Linked DNA regions of Homo sapiens: regions 1, 2 and 4 are each linked to region 3. The links are contacts of gene promoters, found by promoter capture Hi-C in blood cells and fetal thymus (Javierre and others, 2016). All regions are on one chromosome and are shown on one strand. The core of a region is centred on a gene start or on the middle of the fragment in contact, and the rest is flanking DNA. Distances in the headings are between cores, read along the strand shown. Region 1 overlaps NREP (neuronal regeneration related protein). Region 2 holds the start of NREP (neuronal regeneration related protein). Region 3 holds the start of SRP19 (signal recognition particle 19). Region 4 overlaps STARD4-AS1 (STARD4 antisense RNA 1).

Evidence for each region. The method cuts DNA at HindIII sites, captures the fragments that hold promoters and counts their contacts. A CHiCAGO score of 5 or more calls a contact.
Region 1: a fragment that was not itself captured here is called in contact with the fragment with the promoter of SRP19 in region 3 in 1 of 17 cell types (fetal thymus); the score reaches 5.8 in fetal thymus.
Region 2: a contact is called between a fragment that was not itself captured here and the fragment with the promoter of SRP19 in region 3, in 3 of 17 cell types (fetal thymus, naive B cells and total B cells). The highest score is 11.2, in fetal thymus.
Region 4: a contact is called between a fragment that was not itself captured here and the fragment with the promoter of SRP19 in region 3, in 1 of 17 cell types (naive B cells). The highest score is 6.0, in naive B cells.

The regions. Positions count from the first base shown.
Region 1 is chr5:111,740,103-111,742,846 of GRCh38, forward strand. The region is part of intron 2 of NREP (neuronal regeneration related protein); the gene reads right to left. Among named protein-coding and RNA genes, the nearest start is that of NREP, 16 kb to the right of the region's middle. The HindIII fragment of the contact is 1,551 bases long and covers 612-2,162 here.
Region 2 is chr5:111,756,563-111,759,262 of GRCh38, forward strand. NREP (neuronal regeneration related protein) reads right to left here and starts at 632. Exons shown (of 4, transcript NM_004772.4): 1 at 574-632. RefSeq lists an enhancer at 1-389 and silencers at 983-1,382, 1,403-1,762. The HindIII fragment of the contact is 2,166 bases long and covers 210-2,375 here.
Region 3 is chr5:112,859,970-112,862,749 of GRCh38, forward strand. It overlaps SRP19 (signal recognition particle 19), which reads left to right and starts at 1,318. Exons shown (of 5, transcript NM_003135.3): 1 at 1,318-1,448; 2 at 2,539-2,614. The coding sequence starts at 1,408. RefSeq lists enhancers at 1,083-1,377, 1,136-1,215, 1,316-1,615. The HindIII fragment of the contact is 2,166 bases long and covers 1,167-2,780 here.
Region 4 is chr5:111,519,795-111,522,732 of GRCh38, forward strand. All of the region lies in intron 1 of STARD4-AS1 (STARD4 antisense RNA 1), which reads left to right. The region is part of intron 2 of LOC105369177 (a long non-coding RNA gene); the gene reads left to right. Among named protein-coding and RNA genes, the nearest start is that of STARD4, 8.7 kb to the left of the region's middle. The HindIII fragment of the contact is 2,524 bases long and covers 274-2,797 here.

The DNA of each region.
Region 1 (2,744 bases), core at 137-2,636, 1.1 Mb before region 3:
GTGTTTATACTTGTCACTGAATATATTGGTTAATGCATCTTTTTCTATGATGCTATATTTATCTCACTGACAATTAGGTTGAAAAACAACAGAACGTCATAAAGAACCACACTGGTTTAAAATATACTAATCATGACTTGTATTTAGATATCCTTGATCAATTCTTAGGAAATACCAATTTTATGCTTTTGGGTATAATTAATATACTTAAACCCACTATATATTTAAATATTACTTATAGTGAAAATGTGCTATTTCGTACTGATTCTCTTGAATGTATTGATAGTTGGGTAAGTTTCAATATTCTATCACAGCATACAAATTGGAAATAAAATACTCAGGGTTTTGTCCCTCCCTTCCTTCTTTCCTTTCTTTTGAGGCTTGTTTTACTCTTTGGACAGTGCATCATGAAAAATAACTGCATTTTTAAAGTCTATAAAGTAATTAGCTCACCGGTAATTATTGCTTAGTATAAACTATTATTAATAGCTGACAACTAGTGCTCCAAATGAGAAAAATGAAATGTGGGAAAATTCAGAGACCAGTCCCCCAAGGTCCTAAAAAATATGCAAACTAGATTATTGCTTAAATTATTTTTCAAACACTTTTTAAGCTTTTCATTTCAAAATTTGCTATTTATTTTTCAATGGCATGGTCCAAATACAGAATCAATCTAAAAGTTCTCGGACATGTTTCCTATCACTTCTACTACATTGCAGGTAAAATTTGAATCATATCTACTTATTACCTGTTTCTAAATTTGTATTTTCCTCTGTTCATTTACTGTCTTTATCAATATTTCTTTGGGGAGACTGTTCTATGAGAATGATACTTAAAGGCAGGATTATATCTTTTTGCAGAGGCTAAATACACCACACACATAAATACTGCTTACTTCATTAGTTAACATACATTTTCAGAAATCTGCCATGAAGATATGTTGCATGGTTTGGTTGTTAACGACCATAACTGTAATGTTATTCTTTATCCCTGATGGGGTCCTATAGGGTTAAAGAATGCACACACGGGTCCTTTATAACTTAACAGGATGGGTATGCGTATCTGTCTCCTGCAATTAGGAAAGCCGACTAGGGCAGCACGGGTCCAACCTGTATAATCAATTCTTTCTGCAGCAAAGGGGTATATTTCATAATCTTTCTGCCAATTAAATAGTATGTGTCTGCATGTGTACATGTTTTATTCTGCCTAACTAGCCAGGAGGTTGTGAAACCTAGTACTGTAATTCAAGGAGAATTCATGCGCATATACATACACTTCCTTTCTGCAAAAACCCTTTGAGGTGGTGCTATAAAGAATCTCCCTCAAAAGCCACTCTGTTCCCAGGTGTTACTGGTCATATGAGAGGGCCAAATGTAAACTGAAACCATAAATGAGCTACAAGGATCATTTTCTCTGAACAACATTACATCAAAGATTAGATGGTGCCAAAAGATGATGCACTGTGCTGTCTCTCTAGAGACGTAGTCTTAGAGATCTGCCTAACCTTGTGAATGCTGCTTGGAGAAGAAGCACACAGTGGGGAAAACACGTTGCCACTGGAAGACAAAAAGGTAAGCCTGCAGAACACTGGGCCATTCAGATGATGTACGTAACCTCTGCACATTCTGGAAAGCAGAATAAAAGTGCTGGGGCTTAGGTTGGCAAGCATTCTGGCTTGGGGGCTAAACGAAACATGCACTGACCTAATTTAAACACACACATACACACACACACACACACACACACACACACACACACACTGGAGCTGGCTGTGGTAACAATGGGTAATTACAGAGTATGCATTATGAACACCCAACTACTGCACTCTAGACTCATAAATGCCCTCCTGCTAGAAAGGAAAGGAAGGCCTTTGTGGCACCTGCTGACACTCCTTGAGTTTCATTGCCTGGTAAGTCCTTAACATGTACAAATAGAGGTTGGGGGAGACAACTGTGTTTCAATAAGGAAGACAATGATGGCTCACTAATTGGTTAAACCCATTGGCATTAGCTTCGCTTCGGGTGTGTATTCCCACTACGGGCACAGAAAGCGTTCATATTTTATTAATATTATGCCACAGATGATGTTACTGTCCAACATTACATGTCAGGAAGGCAAAAGATTTACAATTCTTGATCTTATGAGTTGGGGTGTCTGAAACAAGCTTTGCAGACTTTAATAGTGGAATCCTCTAAATTCACTCTGCTCATCGTGAAGCCATCTTGAGAGGCCACTGATGAATATGTGGGAACCTGACAGCTGTGGAATTTTATTTCTAGACTTTAACTAGGCACAGAAAGGAAAAGGAAATCTCCTTGCTGGCAACAAAATGAAAGTGTTTACATGTGAAATTAATCGTCAGCACAAAGAGCTTTCACAGTCACTCTGTTCCACAATGTAATATTCTGCTTGTTTGGCTGCTGAGTGTTTTAAAATTTCATTTCTAAGAATAATAGCAAAGACTTTCAAGGGGGGCAAGAAATCAGGTCAGGAGCCAGCCACAAAAGGTTAACAGAATTACCCGACTTTTCTTTTTCACCACGACTTAAAACCATTCATTACGTGAGTTTTCTGGGCTTTGATGGTACATGGTTCAAGGCCAGGTGCAGCAACAGCCAGCTAATTCAAGCATAGTGAACACGGAGGTCAGCTGCAAACATTTACGTTGTGCAACATCGTGTTCCTCTCATTCCAGCCCCATTCCTTTCCAATAAGAGCACATTTAGCACAAAGCAATCCACCTA
Region 2 (2,700 bases), core at 43-2,542, 1.1 Mb before region 3:
GCACATCAGATTATTATAATCACCAAGAAAAAAACAGTCATTTATTTTTAAGGCCCTCCCCGCCAAAGTTCAACTGCTTTATAAGAAAATGCAGAAAAAAGTGCTGCAAGATCGAATGCCTAAGAAGACCCTCGGAAGCAGCAGCATTGAAAGAGTAATCAAGTGTAAGGGCGGAGGGACACAAATTCATTTTATAAAAAGGGAGGAAAAGCTTGCATGCACCAAAGTGCATTTAATGCAAAGAAACACAACAGTTTCTAACAAGGCTTTAGGAGCAAGAAGAACAAAATTAACCACACCAACAAGCACAAAACCCCACCCCTTCCCAAAAGAATTCATTTCTCCCTCCGAACTTGTGCATTTTAGAAAAAACCCAAGTTAAATTCCAGCCTGAATGCAGCACAACCAAAATGCCAGAATTTCTCCAAGGTACACGCTTCAGCTCTTTAAAATTTAGAGGGAAGAAGCATGAACTCTGCAGGGTTGAAGGGTCCAGCTAAGAGCAACGGCAAGGAATCGACACAAAAGAGAAACCAGCGCTCCCAGCCGGGGATAGGAATGGCATATACTTACAGACAAAAGCCCCGCTCCCTGTTCACTCTCTCTCCTCTCTACACCTGAAACACAAATGTGGTTGAAAAAGGGCAACATGCTAGAAAGACAGATTGGGGGGGGAGGGGGGATTGGGGGAGGGAGGGGGAGGGGAAAGGGGTGGAGGAAGAGGAGGGAGGAGGGGGAAGGGAAACAAAACCCAAACCGGCTTCACTTCCAAGAAGTGCAGCCTTGGAAAAAGGAGGAGGAGATCATCTCCCTGCCTCGCGCTCTCTCTCCAAGAGTGTGTGTGTCTCTCTCTTTCTCTAAGAGTCTCTCTCTCTCCCTTTCCCTCTCTCTCCCGCTAGGGTGCTAGTGAACAATGAGCTAATTCTGATGGAGCTGGCGCGGAGCCAGCGCCCCAGCCTTGCTGCCACTGTGCAGCCGCCTAGGAGCCAGACTGCTTACTCGGCAGGAATCGGCGGCTCTGGGCCCCGTCGGCGAGCGGCCAACAGGCGCGCGCGCCCCGACACCCCGCACCCGCGCCCCGGGCGCCCCGCTCGCCGCGCCGTCCCCACTGCACCGCGCGGCGCCCCGGGGAGACAAAGCGGACCCGCAGCTCTGCGCCCCGGCCCCGCCCCGGGAGCACGGCGCGCGCAAATCCCCGGCCTTCCTCCCCGCCCCCGGCCAGCCTCTCCGCCTCGACGTGCGGTTGCTTTTCAGACAAATAAGGAGGTGGAGGAGGCGGTTTGGGGGCGCGCCAAGCGTGAAGGCGGCCAGGGTGCTGCACAGCCCGGCGGCCCGCCAGGGCCGTGGGGAGAGGCGGCGCGGCCCGTACTGTAATAATAAACCTGCAGCAGAGGGCATCTGAGGAAAAGAGGACGGCGACGGGCGGCAGCCGCCTTCCTTTTATGTGCCTGTCCTGAGCGAAGCAGAAAATGGTGCCTGCGGCGGCGCGGAGCCGCGCTCAGACACACAAAGAGTCCGCGAAGGATGCATTTGCACACGGCCTCGGGTCGGACCCTGCCCCTCAGCTGGGTACGCGCGCCCCACTCCCTTCCGCGGGGAAGCCCGGGGCGGGGAGCGCCCCTGAAGGCCGGGCCCAGAGGTCCTGTGGCTGCGCGTGCACACACACACGTGCACACAGTCACACGCGCACAACCAGCCAGAGCTGCGGCCTGGCGTGATCGGCCCAAGACATACTCCCCTGGTGCTTCCTTCTCCTTCCCTATACGCTCCCCCACTGCCTGCCCGTCTGAAATTGTACTTTTTAAAATCGAGGATTGCTTTAAAAAATAAAGTGCTTTGCCATTTCTGATTTTTGTAAACTCGTCGTTCTTATTTAAAATCTATCTTTTCATAGTAATGTAATAGCTCAAAATTTTGCAACAAACTCAAATAAACTGGTTCTGTTGCCAATAAAGCAGGATATCATTTTATGGTAACTCTCAGATGTCACAGGAGAAGATTATTTCCTAATTAAATTGCCTTTCCAAGAAAAAAAGATATAAAGGATCATAGTGTCTTCTAAATTTGCCATCCACTTTTTCCCCTAATCACTGAAAGCAATGTTTTCCATTGTAACAAAGAAAATAAGGCAAATTTACAAAACTCAATTTTTAAACGTGTTTACAGAATGTCTGATGTTTTAGATTTAACATACTGGGTACAGCAATAGCAAACCTTAAAAAGCAATACTTTACACTCACAATTCTAAAAGAATGCACTGAGTTCTCTGTATGCTTGTTGCTGGGACTATAGGTCACCTTTAAAACTACAAAGCCATTGCCACAACAAATGCCTGTTAGACTGCACTGGGTATGATGTTTAAGGAGCCCACTGAAAGCTTCTCTGAATTAATCTAAAACATCACAGTAATTTTCCTGCAAAAATAAGATGATTTGGCAGCCATAGCTAGGAACAAAGGGAAGAAATATAAAACTCAACAAATTCCCTTGACCCTTTCAGGCCAGTTTACCAGCCAGGGAAGTACTGGAAGGAAGGTGTAAGGCATAGGCTGGGTGGTGGGAGAGGGGAGACGCCTGGGGGCTGATCTGCAAGTCTGGAACCCCAACACGCTGCTCAAGGGCACCTCAACATTGAGATCTTTGGCATTCACCTCAGGGTCAGGCTGGGAAAGGACCCCAAGGGCGCACCATCAAATCAGAC
Region 3 (2,780 bases), core at 68-2,567:
TGCAGTGGTGTGATCTTGGCTCACTGCAACCTCCACCTCCTGGGTTCAAGAGATTCCCCTGCCTCCCGAGTAGCTGGGACTAAAGGCCTGTGCCACCATGCCTGGCTTATTTTTTATATTTTAGTAGAGATGGGGTTTCACCATGTTGGCCAAGATGGTGTCTATCTCCTGACCTCGTGATCCACCTGCCTCGGCCTCCCAAAGTGCTGGGATTACAGGCGTGAGCCACCGCACCCGGCCTTAAAACTATTACAATAGTAACAGCAAACATCACTGATCACCGATCACCATAACAGAAATAATGAAAAGGTTTGAAATATTGCAAAAATTACCAAATGTGACACAAAGTATACGCTGCTGGAAAAATGGCACCAAGCAACTTCTTTCAGGCGGATTTGCCAAAAACCTTCCATTTGTAAAAAGGCAGTATCTACTCGCAGCAGCAAGTGAAGTGCAATAATGAAGTATGCCTGTAGTGATGGCACATGGTATCCTTCAGAAGTTTTAAAAGGTGAATAGTTTTGTTTCGTTTTTCCTAGACGGAGTCTTGCTCTGTTACGCAGGCTGGAGTGCAGTGGTGTGATCTCAGCTCACTGCAACCTCCACCTCCTGGGTTCAAGTGATTCTCCTGTCTCAGCCTCCGAGTAGCTGGGATTACAGGCGTGTGCCACCACACTCGGCTAATTTTTGTATTTTTAGTACAGACGGGGTTTCAGCATGTTGGCCAGGCTGCTCTCCAACTCCTGACCTCATGATCCACCTGCCTCAGTCTCCCAAAGTGCTGGGATACAGGCGTGAGCCACCGCACCCGGCCTAAAAGGTGAATAGCTAAGTTTCTAACGCAGAGCACACTGAAACACAACGTCTATAACTTTGCTAGTTCTACCACTACAAAAATCCATTTTGCCAAACTGAAAGCAAGCTCTAGAGCCCAGGAACGGAGAAAAATTAAACGTAAGGAGTATTTCCTTCCCTGTCTAACATATATTTGCATCCTGAACCACACAGATTCCCCTCGTGGCACAGTCTTCGCCCCTTAACAGAGAGTAGCTAGTACCACCCATACTCGCTGAGAAACTGGAAACGAGGGAGGGTCGAAGTTAAACCCTTTTTAGTGGCGGTGCATGCGCCCCACATGGTCTTCCCGGCTTGGGAAAGGAATGAGAAGCTTTCATGATTCTCTCGCGAGAAGGGAAGTCTTCATGCCACGTCAGAGACTAGAGATCCTGGCGCCGAGCGACAGGTGCCGGAACAAACAGGCGATGAGAAATCGCGGACGCGGAACCATTTCTTGGGCAGGACTTCCGGCGGAAAAGCGGGCTGTCTCGGAAACTCAGAGCCGGGTTCCTCCCGGGTTTCTGCCGGGTTTCTCCCTGCGGCTCCTGGGTTGTTGAGACTCTTGTGAAGATGGCTTGCGCTGCCGCGCGGTCCCCGGCCGACCAGGACAGGTGGGTTCTGAGGCGGTGGGTCCTCCGAAAGGAAGGGGCTTGCTGTGGTGCTGCAGGTGCTACACCGCGCTTCTCCGCTCCGCGGCCTCCAGAATGGCCTAGCTGATCCAACTCGCTCTGTACGGGCCCCGCGCCTCTCCCTGGCAGCTCGTTTTTCTGAATCCTGCAGCAGCCACCAGGCTCTTCTCAGGGCTCCTGAAATTCCGACCATAGGTAGCCTAGTGTTTATCTGTACGCGAGACAAGGATTTTGGGTGCTACGTGGACATGATATCAAGTAATATAATCACAGTGTGAGAAATGTGTTCTTTTTAAGTATTGTTGCGTTCAGAAAGGCTCATTTGTGAAATTTTAAGGTTTTTAATACCTCGGACACTTTATATAAGAGGGCGGGCCCATTCTCAGGAACTTTTGACGGGCTGCTCTGTCTAATGTAACAGTTACCCAAGTCGTTTTGTTTCTATTCCTGTGGTTTTTTTCCATCCAAGGTAGTGGATAAAGTTTATTTTTAAATAAGTTAAAGTGAGGTAATTTAAAGAAATAACATTAAGCAAATAATAGCATAGGTGTACCAGCAATGATGACGACTACCACGGACCGAAAGAATGTATTTTTGAAAATACTTGTTATCTGTTGAGTGTAGTTGTCCAGGTTCTTGGCGTTTTGAATAAGGAATTGAACAAAACACACAAAGCAAGGCAGCGAAAGCAGATTTATTTTAAACAAAAGTACACTCCACAGGGTGGGAGCCGGCTCCAGCAAGCTACCCAAGAGCTGTTGGTTACAGAATTTTCTAGGGTTTAAATACCCTCTAGACGTTTCCCATTGACCTGTGCCAGTCTGATTGGTTGAGGGAGGGGGATCAATCAGAAAGAGGAGTAGGCCCGCGGCCAGTCTGATTAGTTGCTCGAGGGGACCACTCCGAGGTACTTTGATTTTTCAACTGCCACGCAGAAAAAGGAGGGGTTGAAAAGGGAGTACCCATCTGATATCTAGGCAGCATGAATTGGCCTTTGGTTCCCTGCCACCCGACCCTTTTCTCCTGCCTCTTACTGCTCTAGTGATACCACTTATGCTATTGTCTATGGCAGGTTTATTTGTATCTATCCTGCTTATTTAAATAATAAGAAGACCATCGCAGAGGGAAGGCGAATCCCCATAAGTAAGGTAAGCAAGATGGCTGGCACCTTGATCCTCGAGGGAATGGGGGGTGTCATCCTGGTCGGGCCACGTAATCTTGTTAGAGCCGCAGGGGGTTCTCTTCACTGCATTTATTTAGGGCTTGAGAACACAGCCAAGAATTGGGGTGCGTTCCTCAGTGTTGGTGAAACCA
Region 4 (2,938 bases), core at 286-2,785, 1.3 Mb before region 3:
AACCGAAACAAAAACAAGCAAACAATTCAAAATTTACTTCATATATATATTTATATATATGAATAAATATATATATTTAATTCATATATATCAAAGTATTTCAATGAAAGCCAATTAACAATATTATAATCCTCATAAATTATATAAACAACTGACGCCAAATCCTCCATTACAGATAACATGTATCACGTGCTTGATATATAGTCCAGGCATTGCTCTAAGTAGGCACTATCATGATCCCTATCTTGCATCTTAGGAAATTAAAGCTTAGAAAGCTTAAGTACTTACCTTAAGTTCATACAGCAAATGAGTGGCAGAAGTCAGGTGTGATTCCTGTACTCTTATTCACTATTCTATTCTCCCTCTCAGTACAGAATCTGTCAGGACAGGGCAGCAATAGGATAAACTAGACTAGGGCTACCTGGGACTTCCAATTGGATGTGAGAGGCCATGTGAGTTCACAGGTTCTCATGGTATTGAAAAGAATGTCAGAAGCCAATGGATGAATCCAGCCCACAGTTGAGGCTGACAGAAAAACACTGGGCTGCTTCATGTGTATCTGAGACAGTTAGTAGCAACTTGATGTCTCCATTATGAAGATGGGGTTATCTAAGTTTCCAAAATTTCATGTTGTGTTTCAGTTCCCAAATGGTCCAAAGAACATTGATATGTGATTTTAAAGTGAAACCGAGCAGAAGAAAGTTGTTTCAAATACCAGAGCTAAACTAAGTACAGTGTTTGAAAGAATGGACTCCATAGCAGGGAAGAAAAAGACCCAACTGGAGTCCACTTTTTAAGAGATCAGCAAGGTACCTCTGATGAGGTTTTTTAAAATTTATTTCATGCAAGCACACCACAGTCTATGTGCCAAATTAGCACCCCCAACCTTTGTTGTAAAGAGTGTTTTGGGGATGTAAGTACACTTATCCACACACGCACTCTCTATGACAGCTTTTATGCTACAATGTCATGGCTGAGAAACTGCAACAGACACTGTATGACCTGCAAAGCTGAAAATACTGCTACCTGACCCTTTCTAGAAAAACGTTGCTTACCTCTGCTCTAAAATATATTTTACAAATCTAGATTTAGGATTTAAATTTAAACAGATAAAACCAGGCTTGGTATACATCTGAGAGCTCTTATCTGTTTGGATCAAGGGTATTAGAAAGCATGGGATGGTGAAACCACTTGAGAAAGAACAAGGTATAAGAGAATTCAATTGGGCCAGCATTTTTATTTTATAAAGTCAGTTGCTCCAGAGAATGAACTTTGTTAAACATAAGGTTACATTTGCAAATATTCTAGCTCAGAGGACGTTGTGTTCCACCAAAATGAGCAAAAGGTCAAAGTGATTGAGTTCTTTGTATCTGATCTTGTATTTCCGATTGTGACATAGATTTCTTTTACATACCTGATCTTATATTTCTGATTTTTTTCTCCTAAGGAGGACACGTGTCTTATACTTCCATAAGTCTGTCAATTGTTAAGGGCCCACTCTGTGCCAAAACAAACTTCAAATATTTACATTCACAATCTGACCACTTGTTCTTCAATATCTCCTTTCCCCTTTGTCTCATGGAAATAGAACCCTTGATTCTGGACATTACTGTCCAGAATGACAGACATTGTCCAGATACTCTTACAGATACAGCTCTGGATTGACTTAGATTCTGCTCATCAGATGCGCACATGAGGGATGTGCAAGGTAGAAGTCATGCTTCTATTTCTTCCGCAGTTCCACTCTGGGTCTCTCTGTCCCCATCCCCTGTCCTGACTCAAAATTGAGTTGTGATCATGGCAGTTTTCCAGTATCTATAAGAACACCTGCATTGGTGGCCCAACTCTGTTGTATTGTTCTCAAAGCATTCTTGGAGTGTTTCTTTAGCCCTCCAGCCAACTCTCTAAGCCATAACAAAACCTGTACTAAATCCTTTTCTGATTAAACTAGCTAGACTGGATTCTGTTCTCTACAAATGAACACTGAACAACACAAAACTGAGAATTTAGAAGTAGGGTGCTGCCCTAAAATATATTAATGCACATTTCATTGTCTTAGCAGTCCAGGCAGTAGATGGTAAGAACAAGCATAGCAGTCTGGAAAACTAGAGACCATAGTTATTCAGTGGCAGGGTATTGAACAAATTCCTGCCTAAGCTAACTTGGAAAGGCGATTACATGCTTATCAAGTCTGTAGCTATAGGCTAGATCACTGGAAAAATTCAATTGATGTCAATTGGTTGCTTCTGCTACTTTCAGCAACGTTTTGCAAGAGAGAGTTGAACTATATCTAGATCTAGCCAGGCTTCAAGGACAATAAAGGGAATATAGATCTCTGCTAAGGAAAGGACAGAGAATTTAAACCTGAGGCAGGGAATTTCAACCTGTGGTCAAGAATCTAAAAGATTTATGAGTCTGATAATTTGGTGCCTCTACACAGTGTTGAAAAAGTCAATTGTCTGCACTTCCACACTGAAGCAATAATGAGGGTGCTCTGAAGGAGCACTGTGACTCCAACAATTTACAAGCATATCTCCAAAGCATTTTGGGTACACAATGAATATAGGTCAAATAAAGCATGTTGCCCTACCATTGAAGTTCCTGATTTTAGGGCATTATGAATACAAGCCTATATTAGCTTGCTAGGGTTGCCATAGCAAAATACGAAAAACTGGGTGCTTTAAACAGGAGAAATTTATTATCTCAAAGTTATAGAGGTTAGAAGTCTAAGATCAAGGTGTCTGCAAGGCTAGCTCCTTCTGATGGCTATAAGAGAGTCTGTTTCATGCCTCCCCCAAGCTTCTGGTGGTTTGCTGGCAACCTTTGGCATTCCTTAACTTGTCGGTCACATTACCCCGACATCTGCTTTCATCTTCACATGACATTCTCCCTGTGTGCCATTCCTGTATCCAAGTTTCCTTTGTGTGTGTGTGTGTGT